2 separate regions of the Homo sapiens genome follow, and region 2 is linked to region 1. Evidence: promoter capture Hi-C in human tissues and cell types (Jung and others, 2019). All regions are on one chromosome and are shown on one strand. The core of a region is centred on a gene start or on the middle of the fragment in contact, and the rest is flanking DNA. Distances in the headings are between cores, read along the strand shown.

Region 1 (3,825 bases), core at 927-3,426:
GTGATCTGCCTGCCTCGGCCTCCCAAAGTGCTGAGATTACAGGTGTGAGCCACCACGCCCGGCCAAAAGCCTTTATTTTTTGCCTTTTCTGCTTTTAACCATCCTCCTTTTTGGGGGGTTGGGGGGACCTAGTTATTAACAGAAAAAAACCCTTTGCTGGTGTCTTTTTTTCTTTTTTTTGAGATGGAGTCTGGCTCTGTCACCCAGGCTGGAGTGCAGTGGCGCGATCTCGGCTCACTGCAACTCCCCGGGTTCAAGCGATTCTCCTGCCTCAGCCTCTGGAGTAGCTGGGATTACAGGCGCCCGCCACCACGCCCGGCTAATTTTTCTATTTTCGGTAAAGACAGGGTTTCTCCCTGTCGGCCAGGCTGGTCTCGAACTGCTGACCTCAGGCGATCCAACACCTCGGCCTCCCACCTCGAGGCGATCCGACACCTCGGCCCAGGTCGCACTTTTTTGCCCGTTTTGATCCCATCCTCCAACTGCGGCCACAGCCGGAAATGTAGAGAAATTCGCGCTCCTGGGGCCGGCGGGGCTGGCGCTGGCTCACCCGCTCCCCGGGCCCTCCCAGTCGCCAGGTTTGCGCTCGGAGCCCAGGGGCTGCGGGTTCACAGTTCGCCCGCGAGTCGCTGTCAACCCTCCAGGCGCGGCCCGGGGGCGCTCGCGCGCGCTGCCAACGGAGCCATCCCTGACGCGTTCTCAGTCTACGGCAGAAAACGCCAGTCGGCGCCGGACCGTGACTCCAGGGTTTCGCGGAAATAAATTTTAATCCAGTTTTGAAGCCACCACTTGGAGTTCCAGGGCAGTTGCACCCCGGGGGTGCGCTGCCGCCACCGCTTCCCGCCCCCTACTCAGTCTCTAATATTTATGGGTGTCATCTCCATCCTCTGAAGGTTTCTGGACCCCAAACTTAACCAAGAGGCAGAGCCTGAGACTGGGACAGAGAATAAGGGCACGGTCTAGAAAGCCTTCCCTCAACTTGAGGTCCACCTTAAGGCATGGGGCCCACCCTCACCCTCTCCCTGTCATCTAATAGTCCCAGGGGGAGCTGGGAGGTGAGTTACCTGAGGCTCAGTAGGGTTCAGGCTGGGTGCCAGGGACACTCCTAGGCCATCTCCTTGCTGCTTGAGTAAGGGAGAAATCCCCAGGCCTGCTGTGTCCCAGAGGAAGGAAAAATACACACGGTACTTTCCAGGGAGCCCTGCCTTTGTCCCAGGGACTCCAGGCTCTTTTTCTTGTCTGAGCCTCACCTGGCACCTGGCCCGAGACACTCCTGAGATGGGATTAAGCAAGGAGCAGGTGGAGGAGCCCAGGCTTCTCCCTCAGGAAGCAAGTGCTCACATCCAACAGAAGTACCTACATGCCGGCCTGAGCCAGGGCTAGGAGGTACCAGCCAGGATGTGGTCTCGAGGGCGAGTCCTCAGCTCAGATAAGGGAAGGCTGAGGACTGAGATGAAGACACCCAGAGTCTGGCTATTAGAGCACCTGGGGCCAGAGGGGGGTGGTTTCTAAGGGATCCAGGTGCTGGCTGATGCGGTAACTGGAGTAGGGGGCAGGCTGGGCTCAGGGTTCTCCAGGGGCACAGTGAGAGTCTCATCTGGGCAGTCAAGACACTCTCGATGGGCGCAGGGGGTCCAGGAGATCCTAGAAGGTCTAGGTGGGCTGAAATAAGCCTGGCCATAAAGAGAGAAATATGTTTGGATTTTATTTATCCCATTAATTTTTTTTTTCTCTTGACTTGATAACCCTATCCCATGTCTGGTAAACCCAGAGTAAGGAGTCCAAAAGCTGCTGGAGGAGGAGCTATGGGAGCCTCAGTCTCCTCTCTATGCCCCCTCCCTGTGCCCCAGTACAAACCTCCACAGCACCCCTGCAATGATAATGCTCACTGCCAGGACCCGTGTCCAGGGTCTCCCTCTTCAGCCTGAGAGACCACCGTCAGGCACAGCCTGCACCCTCCCGTGCACGGCCCCCACCCCTCCCCTGCTGGCCCACAGTGGAATCAGCCTCTCCGGTTTCTGGTGATTTCATCAGGGCCACATCACATTGCTAGAGCTAGAGATAACATCTCCCTGTGGGTAACCCTTCCCTGCCAAGCCCCCTGAAGCTGGGCCCAGGCTGAGAGGAGGGACTGTGGGGTGTGGAATAAATTTAGGGGTGTGAGGGTCTACCAGGCAGAAGCAGGTTGGCTGTGATGACAGCACAGAGCTCAGGAACGCTGCCTGAGGACCCTGGGGCCTACGAGGAGGAGAAGAGGGCAGGAGCTGGTGGGGTGCTTGCAGAGACCCTGGGCTCCTATCCTGCCATAAGCCTCGCTGTCTCCTGATATCTGCAGCCAGGCCCTACTGACACCCCCAGGCCTGAGTGCAAGCAGAGACCCCACCATTCCCAGGCCCTGGAGGACTGGTCCACCTTAACTGGGCAGCCCTTGGGGCAGGCGCTGGCCGGTGCCTCAGCCCAGGCCTCTGTGCTCTGCATGCACTGCCAGCCTGCCATCAGGCCTCTATTGCAGCCCTGAACCATGATCCAGGGCACCTTGGAGCCAGATGGTCCCCTCTGGGGCTGGGACTGGGACAGTGACAATGACTGGGATAGTGCTGTGCTGGCCCTCCTGGCGCTGGCTGTGGTGGCTGCCACAGCGCTGGCCTTACACTGGTTTGGCTCCGGGCACGATCAAGAGGCGGCAGAACCGGTGTCCACAGCCCTCGGGGCTCAACCTCATCAGGCAGGAGGAGCTGAGCTGGCCCTGCAACCGAAGTCTAAGGTCAGTGATGGCAGCGAGGGGCAGAGCCCAGGGCAGGGGAAACCAGAGCCCCCAGGACGCGGCCAGCAGAGCCCTGTCCCTGCTGCAGCGCCGGGCGGGGGCCTGGCCGCCATGGCCCGGCTTCCACTCAAGACGGCTGTCGAGGAGGCCCGCAGAGAGGCATTAGGACAGCAACGGGGCAGTGCCACCCCCGCGGCCCCCCGAGCGGAAGGAAAGGAGCCTCCCAGGCCAGGCACTGCCCTCCTGGGCAGGAGCGAAGCAGGGGGGATGTCCGCCCCCCTCCTGATCCACTTCACTCCTCGGAGCCCTGGCAGCGAAGCGGAGGCGGAGACAGGTGGTGTCAGGGCGTCCTCTCGCCAGGCCGCAGGCCCCGCGGGGCAACAGGACACTGGCCCCTGGCAGGCGGGCGCGGGGCCCTCGGGCTCGATGGGGAGAGGCCGGGGCCGGCGGCGGCGGATGGACGCTGGCTCGGGAGACAGAGCCCGCCGCCCCCGGAAACTGGACCCGCTCCGCCTGGGCGCCGCGGGGAGCGTGTGGGACGCGGTGGACGGGGCCGCCGCCCTGGACGCCCACGCGCGCGGCCTCCCCACAGGACCCCCACTCGCCCAGGAGCCCGCACTCCCGGCGCTGCCCGCTCCCCGCGCCCTGCAGCCTGGGTCTCAGACGGAAGGCTCTGGGGCCAAGGGTGGCTGGAGCAGGGAGGCCTCGGGGGTCCCTGCCCCCGGAGGAGGCTGGCCCTGGGTCAGCAGGGAGGTCCCGGGCACCCGGAGCTTTGGCCCAGCCCCAGACTCCACGCGCCCCTGGCTAGAGAGTCCGCCTCAAGGTCGCCCACTCTCGTCCCAAGGGCCGGGTGCCACAGGGGCCTACGATGCCGGCGAGGCCGGGGCTGACAGCTCCCGAGATAACAGTCCTGCCGCTGACCTGGGGCCCACCCGGCCCCCGGAGCAAGCAAAGCCGGCTGCAGCCGGCCACAGCCGCGCGCCCTCCCGGAGCCGTGAGCCTCGCCCGCGCTCCGCCTCCCCGCCCGCAGCTCCCGGCCCGGGGTTCCCACCTGAAGCCCT
Region 2 (3,825 bases), core at 744-3,243, 190 kb after region 1:
AAATGATTCTCCTGCCTCAGCTTTCTGAGTAGCTGGGATGCAGGTGCCACTGCACCTGGCTAATTTTTGTATTTTTTGTACAGACGGGGTTTTGCCGTGTTGCCCAGGCTGGTCTGGGGCTCCTGAGCTCAAGTGATCTGCCTGCCTCACCCTCTCAAAGTGCTGGGATTACAGGCATGAGCCTCTGCACTTGGGCCCACTTCTTCAATTCTTCTTGCCATTTCTTGAACCATATTTCCAAAGTCTTTTTCTGGTTATTTATGAGACACAACTTGATGCTCAGTTAAAATAAGTGAGGTCCGCTAACACTCAGTAGTGCAGCTGAAACCTATTCACATTCAAGTCACGAAATAGAACTTGTATGCCCTTCAGCTAGAGGAAGTGGGGCTACCTGACATAAAGGTAGAAAAATCCCCTGACACTCGGAGGAGATAAAGTGTCATGACTTAGATAGGGCATATAGGAGATAGGAGGTTTCATGACTCTCAGGTAAGGGAGATGAGACCTCCAGACAACCAGGAAGAGGTGAGAATACCTCCAGACCTCAGGGGGTTGAGATGAGAACTTTGGACACCCAGAATAGAGGAGATCTCATGATACTCTAGCAGAGGAGATGAAAGCTCCATGCCATTTAGACAGGGATATGAGACTATATTCAAGTAGAGGGTAGGACATGCCCTGGCACCCAGATGGGGGCAATGAGATCTCCCAACACTCTGGTATACCGGTGGAGACTTCAGAACATTCATATAGGTAAAATACAACCTCTTGACATTCAGCTGGAAGATGTAAGACCTCTTGATTTTCAGGTAGAGAAAGTGCGACAGGGTGACACTTGGGTGGTGGAGGTGAGAATTCTTAACCTGTAGGTGGAGGCGATGAGGGCCTCTGGCACTGAAGTGGAAAAACAGAGTTGTTATTTCTTTCAAAGAAGGAGGTGATCACTCCCTGATACTGGGTAAGATATACGAGACCTATTGAACATTCATTTGAGGATGTCATAAGTACGACATTCAGTTAGAGAAAATAGATAAATCAAGATCATCTGATAATCTGAAAACTCAACACTCAGGAATAGGAGATGAGATGTCCTGACACTCAGGTTGGAGGCATGGGACCTTCTGACACCCACTTAGATGATGTGCAACCTATTGACCCTCGGGCTGGTTGAGATCTTACATTCAGGTAGAAGAGGTAAGGCTGCCCTCATGCAGGTAAGAGTGTGACCTCCTGACACTTGCAGGCGATGGGAAATGTTTTAACATTCAGGTGTTTGCAATAAGCATTTGTCACACTCTGGTAGGTGAGATGCTAGTTCCTGATGATCAGATGGGAAAAATGATGCTTCATGATATTCAGGTAGCTGTATGAAAACTCTTGACATTCAAGTATAGGAGAAAACACCTTGCTCCACCTCAGTCACAGAAAGCCGATCTGGAGACATTCAGGATAATAGGAGACCTTGTGATATTCAGCAACGGACAGGAAGGTGGGCTTTGCAGTTGTAAATTAGGAAAATTCAAAATGACTCTTGGAAAAGTGTGTTGATAGCATTCACTTGGAAGAGGAAAAGAAAACTTCCCCAACAACAATTAAGGATCAATTAATCTGCTGACCCTGACTCCTCTGATCCACAAACATGTTGCACCGTCTCATCACTGAAGGGCTGAGCCGCTCCTCAGTCTGTGAGTCTGCAGTGGTCACAGCACGCATGAGAGGCAGACTCTGAACCTGCACAAAGCCAGAGCCTTGGGTGATGTGGGGACCTCGCAAGAGTTACTGGGAATGGAGATCCTGGCCTTGGGACAGAGGGAGTGGGGCTGCACAGGAGTCCCCCATCATCCTGGTGGTGGGGGAGCCTATGCAGGAAGTCAAGAAGTCTCTTCAGCACAAACCAGTTAAGGCGAGGGGCTCTTACCTGGCCTGACTGCTGGGGGTGGGGTGGGGGTCACCCCTGCTGATTGGCCAGGCAGCCACGGAGCTTTGTGAGGTCACTAGGCTTGCAGGCCAGGCAGTGCCAGGAGTATGGTTGAGATGCTACCAACTGCCATTCTGCTGGTCTTGGCAGTGTCCGTGGTTGCTAAAGATAACGCCACGTGTGAGTAAGTGTCGGGGCACCTTGGTGGGGGAAGGATCTTCTGAGGAGCAGGTACCACCCCGACTCCCTCTGTCCAGGGCTAGGGAAAAGGAGGCTGCATCCCTAACCTGGACCCCCCCTGCTCCCAGAATCAGCAGCCTGGAGCCCCCAGACCCTCAGCTTTCGTGGTTTCCTCCAGAGATGGACCCCTCAGCACCTCAGGCTCCTTGTGCCTCTCCCACTCCCCCAGGGACTGACCCCACTGTCTTGAAGACATGAAGTCCTGATTTTGGGAGCCCTTATCCCCCCACAGACAGCTGTCCCAACCCGTGGTTGCCCCCAACAGCCCCAGGATATCATCGCTTCACACCGCTTGCACCCCTACCCCCCAGTAGGCTCTCTCACTCCAAGGTACCCCGAAATACCAACACCTCCCAAGCTATATGTGGCCTCCCACCCGTGACACAGTTCCCAGAGCCTCCACCTCTAGACCTCCACTGCTCTCAGTGTGCCCCCTACACCTGTGGGCCACAGTATCTGCCCCTGGCTGCTATCCCTCCTCCCATCACTGTCAACGACCCCCTTCATCACCTGACTTCCCTGAGTCTCCCACCCAAGATTGGTTATAAGGACCTCAGGCCATTACACCCCTCTGTCCCCAGGCCCCGCATCCCCACCTCTACCCTCCTGTTCTGCCCAGGGACGGGCCATCCCTCAGGGCCCATGCAGCCTGTCCTGGCTTCCTATGGCCTCCTCTTTCTCCATCTGTGACTGCACCCACAAGACCTGAGAAGTCGTGGCCCCAGAACCATTTCCTAGAGCCTGCGGCTTCCTACATAGCGCAGGCTGCCCCTGCTTTCCCAGAACCCGGAAGCTCTTCCCCACTTTTCCCAACCCCATGTCCCTGCCTCCCCTCAGTTGTGGAGTTACAAGGACAGGCTGTGCTCATGCCAGGTTTGAACTGTGCTCTGGTCTCTCCCCAGTGGCCCCTGTGGGTTACGGTTCAGGCAAAACCCACAGGGTGGTGTCCGCATCGTCGGCGGGAAGGCTGCACAGCATGGGGCCTGGCCCTGGATGGTCAGCCTCCAGATCTTCACGTACAACAGCCACAGGTACCACACATGTGGAGGCAGCTTGCTGAATTCACGATGGGTGCTCACTGCTGCTCACTGCTTCGTCGGCAAAAAGTACGTGTAGGGATGCACTGAGGGAGGTCTTCAGAACGGCTCTTCTCAGAGAGGGGCGTTCCCCGGGGATGCTGTGCAGCGTCTCCCTGGGGCTCTGGGCCAAGTGGCTGCAAGACTCCGGGGGCTGGTCCAGACCTTTGCTAGGGGAAGGCCCTGAGGGTCGCTGTCACCAGGCTTTTGTCCAGCCGGTTGTGACCTGGCTTACCTTTGTGCCCACAGTAATGTGCATGACTGGAGACTGGTTTTCGGAGCAAAGGAAATTACATATGGGAACAATAAACCAGTAAAGGCGCCTCTGCAAGAGAGATATGTGGAGAAAATCATCATTCATGAAAAATACAACTCTGCGACAGAGGGAAATGACATTGCCCTCGTGGAGATCACCCCTCCCATTTCGTGTGGGCGCTTCATTGGGCCGGGCTGCCTGCCCCACTTTAAGGCAGGCCTCCCCAGAGGCTCCCAGAGCTGCTGGGTGGCCGGCTGGGGATATATAGAAGAGAAAGGTGAGTATGGGAGCGCCTCCAAGGGGGGACGCTGCTGGCCATTCTCCTGGTGGTCTTT

Evidence for each region. Contacts are between HindIII fragments. The study calls those that stand out against the background at their distance.
Region 2: a contact is called between the fragment with the promoter of ACR here and the fragment with the promoter of KLHDC7B in region 1, in 2 of the 25 tissues and cell types used here (H1 embryonic stem cells and dorsolateral prefrontal cortex).

The regions. Positions count from the first base shown.
Region 1 is chr22:50,543,723-50,547,547 of GRCh38, forward strand. It overlaps KLHDC7B (kelch domain containing 7B), which reads left to right and starts at 2,177. Exons shown (of 1, transcript NM_138433.5): 1 at 2,177-3,825. The coding sequence starts at 2,522. It overlaps KLHDC7B-DT (KLHDC7B divergent transcript), which reads right to left. Exons shown (of 4, transcript NR_199716.1): 2 at 2,652-2,746; 3 at 1,065-1,673. RefSeq lists a silencer at 498-792. The HindIII fragment of the contact is 12,740 bases long and covers 1,804-3,825 here.
Region 2 is chr22:50,736,211-50,740,035 of GRCh38, forward strand. It overlaps ACR (acrosin), which reads left to right and starts at 1,994. Exons shown (of 5, transcript NM_001097.3): 1 at 1,994-2,102; 2 at 3,061-3,264; 3 at 3,484-3,767. The coding sequence starts at 2,026. LOC105373100 (a long non-coding RNA gene) reads right to left here and starts at 1,959. Exons shown (of 2, transcript NR_134637.1): 1 at 1,180-1,959; 2 at 1-894. RefSeq lists an enhancer at 3,491-3,825. The HindIII fragment of the contact is 13,172 bases long and covers 1-3,825 here.